Regions from separate parts of the Homo sapiens genome. Here region 1 is linked to region 2. The links are contacts of gene promoters, found by promoter capture Hi-C in human tissues and cell types (Jung and others, 2019). All regions are on one chromosome and are shown on one strand. Each heading gives the region's core, a stretch centred on a gene start or on the middle of the fragment in contact. The rest is flanking DNA. Distances are from core to core; before and after follow the strand shown.

Region 1 (4,911 bases), core at 1,728-4,227, 500 kb before region 2:
ACATTTTACTATACTTTGTCATATACATCTCTGTATCATCCATCAATTCATCTTTTTAAATGCATTTTGAAGTAGGTTGCAGATAGCTTACATATCATTAATTAGAGTTCAAAATTTGGGGCTGGAAGATCTAAGGTGGCTCATCCCCTGGCTAGCAATGTGGTGCTGGTGAGTTGGTTACTGGTTACGGGGCTGCTTGAGTCTCCTCATGGCATGGCGGATGGCTTCTCCTAGAGAAAGAGCAATAGAAGAGACCAAGGAGGAAGCTTCAGTGTGTCTTATGACCTAGCCTCAGATGTCACATGCAACAGTGCTGTATTGATCATATGGGTCGTGTATGATTCAATATTGGAGGTGGGGTACACAGGACAGGAATATCAGGTGGCAAGGGTCTTTGGTGAGCATTCTGAAGGCTAGTCAACACACCCACCTTTCCTTCAGACCACCTCTTTTCATCAGCCCGGAATCTCTTTTTTTGTGCTGGAGTGCCTGATCTGATTGTAGCTGTTTGAGGCATCTGGAATTCATGGCCGGGTTTAGAACAACTTGGAAGGTCTCCTTTCCCCCTCTTCTCTTTCTTTTACCCTTCTCCCCTCTCTCTTCCTCTCAGCCTTACCCCCAACTCTAGTCTTTCTTTGCTTCTAGTGAGCGAGCAGGAGATGCTCTGAGAGTCAACTGGGAATGCAGCTGATAAGGGTCTGCTGGGTGCAGGAAATGTTGGAAGGTTTGCTTGCTGGGCTGTATCACCTCCTGTATTATGGGAGCTTAGAGTATTTGCCAGCTTGTCAGGACTACCATCGTCTTCCATGTTCTGAGACTGGAGTACCCAACATTCCCCTAGCAGGGGACACTTGGCTTGATAGGGCTCTATCAATCTATATTGTGAGGGTAGAGATACTCATATTGCAAGGGGAGGCTGCAGGAGTTGCCTGCTGGGGCTAAGATTATTCCTTGTGTTTGGGATAAAGGAGGGGTCACCGCAGGGGCAGTCAACTCATGTTGGGGGAGACGGGATTTGCATTCTGGGCTCCCCTCCTCGTTTATGTTAAGGGTGTTGCTTGCTGATGCTTCTATTAACTCTTACTTTGGGATAATGGGAAGAGAGATAGTTTTCTGGGGTATGAGTTTGTCACTTATGTTGTAGAATCTGGGGGGCTGCCTGTTGAGATTCTGACCATTGCTTGTTTTGGGTGTCATTGCTGGGGATACTTATTTATAGTCTTGGGAAGACAAGGGATGCATGTTGCAGCGGTAGTGGGTAAGAATGGTGGCATTTGCTGGAGTTCTTTTTTTTTTTTTTTTTTTTTTTGAGACAGAATCTTGCTCTGTCTCCCAGGCTTGAGCGCAGTGGTGTGATCTTGGCTCACTGCAAACTCTGCCTCCCGGGTTCAAGAGATTCTCCTGCCTCAGTCTCCTGAGTAGCTAGGACTACAGGCACGTGTCACCACGCCCGGCTAATTTTTGTATTTTTAGTAGAGACGGTTTCACCATATTGGTCAGGCTGGTCTCGAACTCCTGATCTCGTGATCCACCCGCCTTGGCCTCCCAAAGTGCTGGGATTACAGGCGTGAGCCACCATACCCAGCCTGGAGTTCCTTTCTTGAGTGTGTAGAGGATTGAGGGTTGATTGGTTTTTGGAGTTTCCATCATTAATGTAGGAGCGATACGGGGAATCACTTGGCGAAGCTTTCATTGTCTCTGATGTTGGAGGTAACTGGAGGGCCAGTGCCTGGGGCTTCCATTTTTTTCTAGTGTTGAAGGGTCAAGAGCATTTATCAGATAGAGGCCTTACTGTGTATTGTTTGGGGAGAGGATGGAGGGATTATTGGATGGGGTTCCACTTATCTCTAGTTGGGGAGGGTCATATTCTGGGTCTCCGCTTGCCTGTACTGTTGGTATAGACTGGGTAGGCCATTGGGCTTGGAGTCCCCATTCTTTAGTGTTGAGGGGCATCTGAAGGGGTCATTTCAGGGACTTCTGTTATAGTTTTGGACGTGACTGAGGGGTGCTTGCTGGAGTAGTTTCGCGATGACGGAGGTCTTCATGTTTGGACTCCATCTTTTGTGTTTGTAAGTGATTGAGGGGTGGAGATCTGGCATCCTGTTGCCTCTTGTTTTGAGGGTGACTGGTGGTTACCTGCTAGGGCTTCTGTCAGCTCTACTGCTGTATGCAGATTGTGAGAATCACTTGCTGGGGCTTCCATAATCTCTAGTCTTAGGGGGACTGGGAAATGGCTTGCCATGCTTTCTATTATCTCTAGTTTTAAGGGACCAGTTCAATGTGATTTAAAACTCTTTTTATTTGAAAAAAAAAAAAAATTAGGGCTGGGCACGTTGGCTCACGCCTATAATCCTAACACTTTTGGGAGGCCAAGGCAGATGGATCACTTGAGGTCAGGAGTTTGAGACCAGCCTGGTCACCATGGCGAAACCCCATCTCTACTAAAAATACAAAAATTAGCTGGGCGTGGTGGTGCACACCTGTAGTTGCAGCTACTTGGAGGCTGAGGCAAGAGAATTGCTTGAACCCAGGAGGCGGAAGTTGCAGTGAGGTGAGTGTGGGCAACAGAGTGAGACTCCGTCTGAAAAAAAAAAAAAGATTTAGACGTATAAAAGTGTTAAAACTATACAGGCTTGATTTATACAGTCAATATTTATTTGTATTTGCTCACATTTTATCTTTCCTGATTATCCTTATATATTTCTGGAATTGCTTCCACATGGAATAATTTTCCTCCAGCCCCAAAACTTTCCTTCTTTCTTTCCTTCTCCTTCCTTCCTTCCTTCCTTCCCTCCCTCCCTCCTTCCTTCTTTTTTTTTTTTGAGACAGAGTCTCGCTCCATCGCCCAGGCTGGAAAGCAACGGTGCGATCTCAGCTCACTGCAACCTCCACCTCCTGGGTTCAAGCAATTCTCCTGCCTCAGCCTCCCAAGTAGCTGGGATTATAGGCGACCGCCACTACGCCCAGCTAATTTTTTTTTTTTTTTGTAGTTTTAGCAGAGATGGGGTTTTGCCATGTTGGCCAGCCTTGTCTCGAACTCCTGACCTCAGGTGATCCACCTGCCTCAGCCTCCCAAAATGCTGGGATTACAGGTGTGAGCCACCGTGTCTGGCCCAAAACTTTCTTTAGTGTTTCTTGAAGTGCAGTTCTGCTGGTGATGAACTATGTTGTTGCTGAAACACCAGGGGTTCAATCTAGGTCCTGCTGCTCACCACTGCACAGAAAGCCTATCGCTGAGACAATGAGTATTGCCAAGGAAGAAGGCTTTAATCAGCTGCTGCAGCTGAGGAGGTGGGAGAACAATCTCAAATCCATCTCCCTGACCAACTAAAATTTGAGGTTTATATAGCAGGGAAGAAATGTTACCATGTGTGGGAATACAGGAATTAGGGAAGGGTAAGGAAGAGGAGTTGGTCAACAGGAAGCAGGTGGTCAGTTAGGCAATCATGATGGGTGATGGGTCTGATGTCTCACTGTACAAATGCAGTATTCTGGTGCGTTTCAGCTCCTAGATACTATCTGGGAGGCCTGATGGTTGGTTTCCTGAGAAAGGAACTCAGATAAGATAAATGTAACTTTCTTAAGTTTTAAGATTGGGAAGATCAATTTGTTTGTTTATTCAAGGAAACCATAAACATCAGCAATATGGGAAAATTGGGCCAGTTTCACTTTCAGGTATTTAAAAGAAAAATCTATTGGATTTTGGATATCAATTCTTGTCCTTCACTTGGCGCTAAGTTCATGTCCCTACATAAGATACAAAGGGGGCCGGGCGCGGTGGCTCCCGCCTGTAATCCTAGCACTTTGGGAGGCCGAGGTGGGCGGATCACAAGGTCAAGAATTCAAGACCAGCCTGGCCAACATAGTGAAACCCCATCTCTACTAAAAATACAAAAATTAGCCGGGTGTGCTGGCGTGTGCCTGTAGTCCCAGCTACTCGGGAGGCTGAAGCAGGAGAGTCGCTTGAATCCAGGAGGCGGAGGTTGTAGTGAGCAGAGATGGCACCATTGCACTCCAGCCTGTGTGACAGAGTGAGACTCCATCTCAAAAAAAAAAAAAAAAAAAAAGAGATACAAAGGAAGCTACTGTTGGGATAATGTCATTTGGTCGTATTCCCATCAGAAACCTTAAGCTTTGGCCACAACCAGGACTCTTCATATAAAATGGTGATGGTGGTGGTGGGGAACCAGGGAAAAAGCGGAAAAAATTAAAGATTTTTTAAAAAACCCAAACCCAAAGCATAGCTGTCTTCTATTCCTGCTTTGGGACCTGGTCTTCAGGACTGAATTTAATTCTTCCACATCCATTCCACATTCTGCTTTCTCTCTGCCAGTCCCTTATCTGAATGGATTTTTATTTTTATTTTTTTTTGGGATGGAGTCTCACTCTGTCGCCCAGGCTGGAGTGCAGCGGCGCGATCTCGGCTCACTGAAAGCTCTGCCTCCCGGGTTCACGCCATTCTCCTGCCTCAGCCTCCTGAGTAGCTGGGACTACAGGCGCCCGCCACCACGCCCGGCTAATTTTTTGTATTTTTAGTACAGACAGGGTTTCACTGTGTTAGCCAGGATGGTCTCGATCTCCTGAGACCGGCCCTGAATGGATTCTTTACCCTGATAGAGTGATCTTATCTCGGATCAGGTTTTCTGGGAACAGATTTTGTGCTGGCAATTTTTTGTTTATTGGATAAAACTCCTGGGAACAACATCTTTAAAGGCATGCGAGAAGCGGAGGGGACAGATGAGGCTGACATGTAACTTGTCAACTGAGGCTGCCGTCGATCCCACAGGGAGTTCTGGTGCTGGGGTTGCCCTTCAGGGGTGTCCTACATTGAAACAAAGGCACTGGACCTTTGTACCCCCTACATCAACCAGTCACTGGAAGTAGGCAACCCCTGGAGAGAGAGCATAATCT
Region 2 (5,271 bases), core at 1,870-4,369:
GGAAATCCACGTGTTAGAGAAGCTATCCCCAGGCACGAGTTCTAGCGCTGTTGGCTGTGAGTTTGCTGCTGATGACACTGACTTCTTGATGATTCATAGCCAGAGGCCCTTGGGACCCTAACTGTATGTATATACAGACATATTTTTCTTTCCATTTGAGAGCAGGTAATGTTTATTGAACAGCTTAGAAAAATAATTATAGTACACACCATAGTTCATTCTTCTAACAAGCCTGTTGATCTGGTCCTCCCTGTTGCCAGCATCTCCACCTTCCACGAAATGGGTGGTCTGTTTCTTCATTCTGCCTCATGGAGAAGATACTTTGAAGGACCACAGGAAGTTATGTGCTTCTTTGAAGCGTTTTCCAACAGTATGGACCTCATGAATCACATCCTCCATACAGATGATGCCATATTTTCCAAGAGATCGTGCAAAGCGTTATCTGTCAAAGCAATTCGTTTCTTATTGATTTTGCCATAACCACGCTTGTAGATTAGTTTATTTACTGACTTCAGATTTAGGTACCCGCATGCAATGTATGGCTCTACAATCCTCAGCATGTTAATTGGCCTTCACAAAGGTTCCATTGAAGATTTGACAAAGGCAAAGAAGCTGCAACACATTTCGGACCTTTGGGCTCACACCATCGATACCTCTGATCCTGATGACAAACGCCAGTCTGGATTCTGCAGGTTCATAGAAGTTGCCAGCTTTTCTTGACATCTTTTCCATTCGAATTTCAGTTCTGTACCTCTGCCTATATTCCTTGTGATAGTGCTTCAATTTTTCATAGATAAGCTTCCTCCTTGCCTTTCGAAGCATCTTTTGGGCAAACTTCTTTCTCAGGCGCTTGGTCTTCAGCTCTGTGAAATTCCTTCGCTTTTTCTTAGGGGTTTCTGGCACAGCGGGAACTTCCTTCTTCTTCTCTTCTACACCCTCCATGGTTCCAGCCGGAAAAAGAGGCTGGATCCTCTTTTTAAAAAATATATATATTTTTAAGACAGAGTCTCGCTCTGTCACCCAGGCTGGAGTGCAATGGTGTGATCTCGGCTCACTGCAACCTCTGCCTCCCGGGTTTGAGCGATTCTCCTGCCTCAGCTTCCTGAGTAGCTGGGATTAAAGGTGCCCACCACCACACCCAGCTATTTTTTGAATTTTTAGTAGAGATGGGGTTCCACCATGTTGGCCAGGCTGGTCTCCAACTCTTTTTTTTTTTTTTTTGAGACGGAGTCTCACTCTGTCACCCAGGCTGGAGTTCAGTGGCGTGATCTCGGCTCACTGCAAGCTCCACCTCCCGGGTTCACGCCATTCTCCTGCCTCAGCCTCCTGAGTAGCTGGGACTACAGGCGCCCGCCACCATGCCCGGCTAATTTTTTGTATTTTTAGTAGAGACGGGGGTTTCACCGTGTTAGCCAGGAGGGTCTCAAACTCCTGATATCAAGTGATCCGCCTGCCTCAGCCTCCCAAAGTGCTGGGATTACAGGCGTGAGCCACTGCGCCTGGCTCCTTCTTGGTGTTTCTTGACTTTCATCTGCCTCATTCAGTTTCTGTTTCTGTTTTCACACGGCTCCTTCTCTATGAGCCTCTTTTCTCTCCACCTGAGGGCCCACTCTAATCCAGTATGACCTCATTTAAGCCTAATTATATCTGCAAAAAAAACCCCGTAATTTCAAAATGAGGTCATATTCTGCAGTTCCAGGAGGCCATGAATTCTGGGAGGACACCGTTAACCCACTACAGCCATCGAGAACAGCAGCAGGAGGCTGGATGCGGTGGCTCACACCTGTCATCCCGGCACTTTGGGGGACCTACGCAGCAGGATCGCTTGAGCCCAGATGTTTGAGACCAGCCTGGTAACATAGTAACACCCTATCCTCTACCCCCCCCAAAAAAAAAATTAGCCGGGCATGGTAGCGTGTGCTGGTAGACCCAACTATGCAAAAGGCTGAGATGGGAGGGTCACTGAAGCCCAGGAGTTTGAGGCTGCTGTGAGCTGTGTGGCGCCACTGCATCCAGCCTGGGCAACAGAGCAACACTCTGTCTCTAAAAATATTAATTTAGGCCGGGCGCGGCGGCTCACGCCTGTAATCCCAGCACTTTGGGAGGCCAAGGCGGGCAGATCACGAGGTCAGGAGATGGAGACCATCCTCGCTAACATGGTGAAAACCCATCTCTACTAAAAATACAAAAAGTTAGCCGGGCGTGGTGGCGGGCGCCTGTAGTCCCAGCTACTTGAGAGGCTGAGGCAGGAGAATGGCGTGAACCCGGGAGGCGGAGCTTGCAGTGAGCCGAGATGGCGCCACTGCACTCCAGCCTGGGCGACAGAGCGAGACTCTGTCTCAAAAAAAAAAAAAATAAATAATAAAATAAAATAAAAATAAAAAATAAAAATATTAACTTAATTTAACTTTAAACAAAAAAGCAGGTGGTCTCCAAGAATGCAGGAGATAACTGACCGGGTGCAGTGTCTCATGCCTTTAATCCCAGCACTTTGGAAGGCCAAGGCGGGTGGATCACCCAAGGTCAGGAGTTCAAGTCCAGCCTGGCCAACATGGTGAAACCCCATCTCTACTAAAAATACAAAAAATTAGCCAGGCATGGTGGCGCGCGCATGTTACTCCCAGCTACTCGCGAGGCTCAGACAGGAGAATCGCTTGAACCCAGGAGATCGAGGTTGCGGCGAGCTGAGATGGCGCCACTGCACTCCAGCCTGGGTGACAGAGGGAGACCTCCGTCTCAAAAACAAAACAAATCAAAAAAATGCAGGAGAGGGGTACACGAATATTTGGGGAGCACCCCCAATTCTTGGATGTCTGCTGTATCCCCAGTGCACAGCACAATCTAATCCCTAATAAATGTGCAGTGGAGGTTTGTTGAATAAATGAATGGGCCCCAGAAGAATGAGGTGGAGAGGGGAATAGGAAGATTGAATGTCTCCTGCCTGAAGGTCGGGCGGGGAGGGGTTGGGGGCAGGCAACTCTGAGGCTCACCCGGGGCCACTGCCTGCATCCTGGCAACTGCCTCCACCCACTTTAGGATCTTCAGACTGGCAGCGGTTGGAGGGAATTTCCCCTCGCCAATTGCTCAAGTCCCTCCCCTCGACCGGCCGGACATCCCCAGAGAGGGGCAGGCTGGTCCCCTGACAGGTTGAAGCAAGTAGACGCCCAGGAGCCCCGGGAGGGGGCTGCAGTTTCCTTCCTTCCTTCTCGGCAGCGCTCCGCGCCCCCATCGCCCCTCCTGCGCTAGCGGAGGTGATCGCCGCGGCGATGCCGGAGGAGGGTTCGGGCTGCTCGGTGCGGCGCAGGCCCTATGGGTGCGTCCTGCGGGCTGCTTTGGTCCCATTGGTCGCGGGCTTGGTGATCTGCCTCGTGGTGTGCATCCAGCGCTTCGCACAGGCTCAGCAGCAGCTGCCGCTCGAGTCACTTGGGGTGAGTTGAGATGGAAAAGTTGGGAAGAAAACATAGAGAGGCGCGTGACCGAAAAGACAGAATGAGATGGGTACAAAGAGGCCAGAGAGGAAGATCTGGTAGGGCAGAGACAGAGACCAGAACAGGGAGGCGAGGCGGGGACCAGGCTGCCCGGTGTAGGGGCTACGAGACAGGCAGCCCTGCCAGGAGGTACAGGGAGATCCCGGGATGGGAAAGGTAGGCACACATGGAAATGGAAGATGACTCGGCTCTGGTGTTCCCCCGGCAGGCTGACTCAGAGGCTGCTGGGGGCTTCACAAGGCTGGGCGTGGGGGCTTCCTGGGGCCTCCTAGGACGGGATGGCCCCAGCCACTCGCTCCGGGTGGGGGAGGGGTCCCTTTGGGGACCGCGCCGGGCGCCTTTGCAGCGTAGAGAGTCCGCTGCGCGCGGTGCTCTCGCGCCCAGTGACATCCAGGAAAACGATTCGGGAAACGAAGAAGTTCTTTTGAAGGTCTCGACTTCACGTTCCCCGCTGGTTCAGACCTGCTTCCTCTTTAAGAAGTCTTAAGAGTAAAAAAAAATAAAATGAAATAAAATCACCAGTGCGCGCCGTGGGATGAGAGGTGGAAAGGAGGATGGACAGAGAAAAGAGAGCTCCTGGCACAGGGGACACATAGAACCTCTCTGCTTACGTCCGTGCCCTGTTTTCTGGTCTTTTCTTCCAGTGGGACGTAGCTGAGCTGCAGCTGAATCACACAGGTAACACGGGGGACGTGGAGGGACGGGGAGAAGAAGAGGCACAGAGAGAGAAGGAAGGAGAGGTAGAAAGACAAGTGGGGAGAGACAGAGAGAAAGAGACACAGACAGAGACGGAGGGAGAGAGGGAGGGAGAGATAGGGAGGGAAACGGAGAGGGGGAGACAGAGAGAAGACAGAGAGGGAGGGAGAGGCCCAGAGAAAGGGAGGGAGAGACAGAAAAAAGAACAGAGAGAGGGACAGAGGGGACAGACGGGACAGGAGAAGAAGGGGAAAGAAAGAAACAGGGAGAGACGCAGGGAGAGTGGAAGAGGGAGGGAGGGAGACAGGCGGGGGAGACAGAACGAGAGAGAGGGAGAGAGACGGAGAAAGAGAAAAAAGACAGATAGAGGAAGAGAGAATAAAAACGAGAGAGGCGACCTGGCGTGGTTGCTGGAGCCTGTAATCCCAGCGCTTTCGGAGGGCGCGGCGGGTGGATCACTTGAGCCCAGGAGTTTGAGACCAGCCTGGCCAACATGGTGAAACCCCGTCTCTACTAAAATTACAAAAATTAGCCGGGTGTGGTGGCAGGCACCTGTAATCCCAGCTACTCAGGAGGCCGAGGCAGGAGAATCGCCTGAACCTGGGAGGCAGAAGTTGCAGTGAGCCAAGATAATGGCACTGCTCTCCAGCCTGGGTGACAGAGGGAGATTCTGTCAAATAAATAAATAAAAAGAAGAAAGGAAAAGAAAAAGAAAGAAAGGAAGGAAGGAAAAGAAAGAGAAGAAGGAAGGAAGGAGAGAGGGAGGGAGGTGAGAGAGAGAGAAAGGAAAAAGAAAGAAGAAAGAGAAAAAAAGAAATAAGAGAAAGAAAAGAAAGAAAGCCAGAGAGAGGAAAAGAGAAGGAGAATAACAGAGAGGAAGAGACAGAGACAGAGAGGGGGAAGAAGAAAAACAGGGCGGGGGAGAAAGAGATCATTCCCAAGAGAAAAAGGAAAAGGGAGAGAACGAGAGAGAGAGAGAGGAGAGAGAGAGCGAGCAGGTTTGTGTTTCTGGGCATCCACTACCTTTCTCTCCCTTTCCCTCTCAGTCCTTCACATTCGATCTCCTCCCTTGGAAGAATCAAAGGGG

What was found. The method cuts DNA at HindIII sites, captures the fragments that hold promoters and counts their contacts. A contact is called where the count stands out against the background at its distance.
Region 1: a contact is called between a fragment that was not itself captured here and the fragment with the promoter of CD70 in region 2, in 1 of the 25 tissues and cell types used here (ovary).

Annotation. Positions count from the first base shown.
Region 1 is chr19:7,093,575-7,098,485 of GRCh38, reverse strand. All of the region lies in intron 1 of LOC124904625 (a long non-coding RNA gene), which reads left to right. Among named protein-coding and RNA genes, the nearest start is that of ZNF557, 26 kb to the right of the region's middle. The HindIII fragment of the contact is 4,002 bases long and covers 977-4,911 here.
Region 2 is chr19:6,588,998-6,594,268 of GRCh38, reverse strand. It overlaps CD70 (CD70 molecule), which reads left to right and starts at 3,119. Exons shown (of 3, transcript NM_001252.5): 1 at 3,119-3,428; 2 at 4,133-4,166. The coding sequence starts at 3,267. It also overlaps the pseudogene RPL7P50. RefSeq lists enhancers at 1,300-1,399, 1,420-1,879, 2,950-3,349, 3,850-4,219. The HindIII fragment of the contact is 16,779 bases long and covers 1-3,729 here.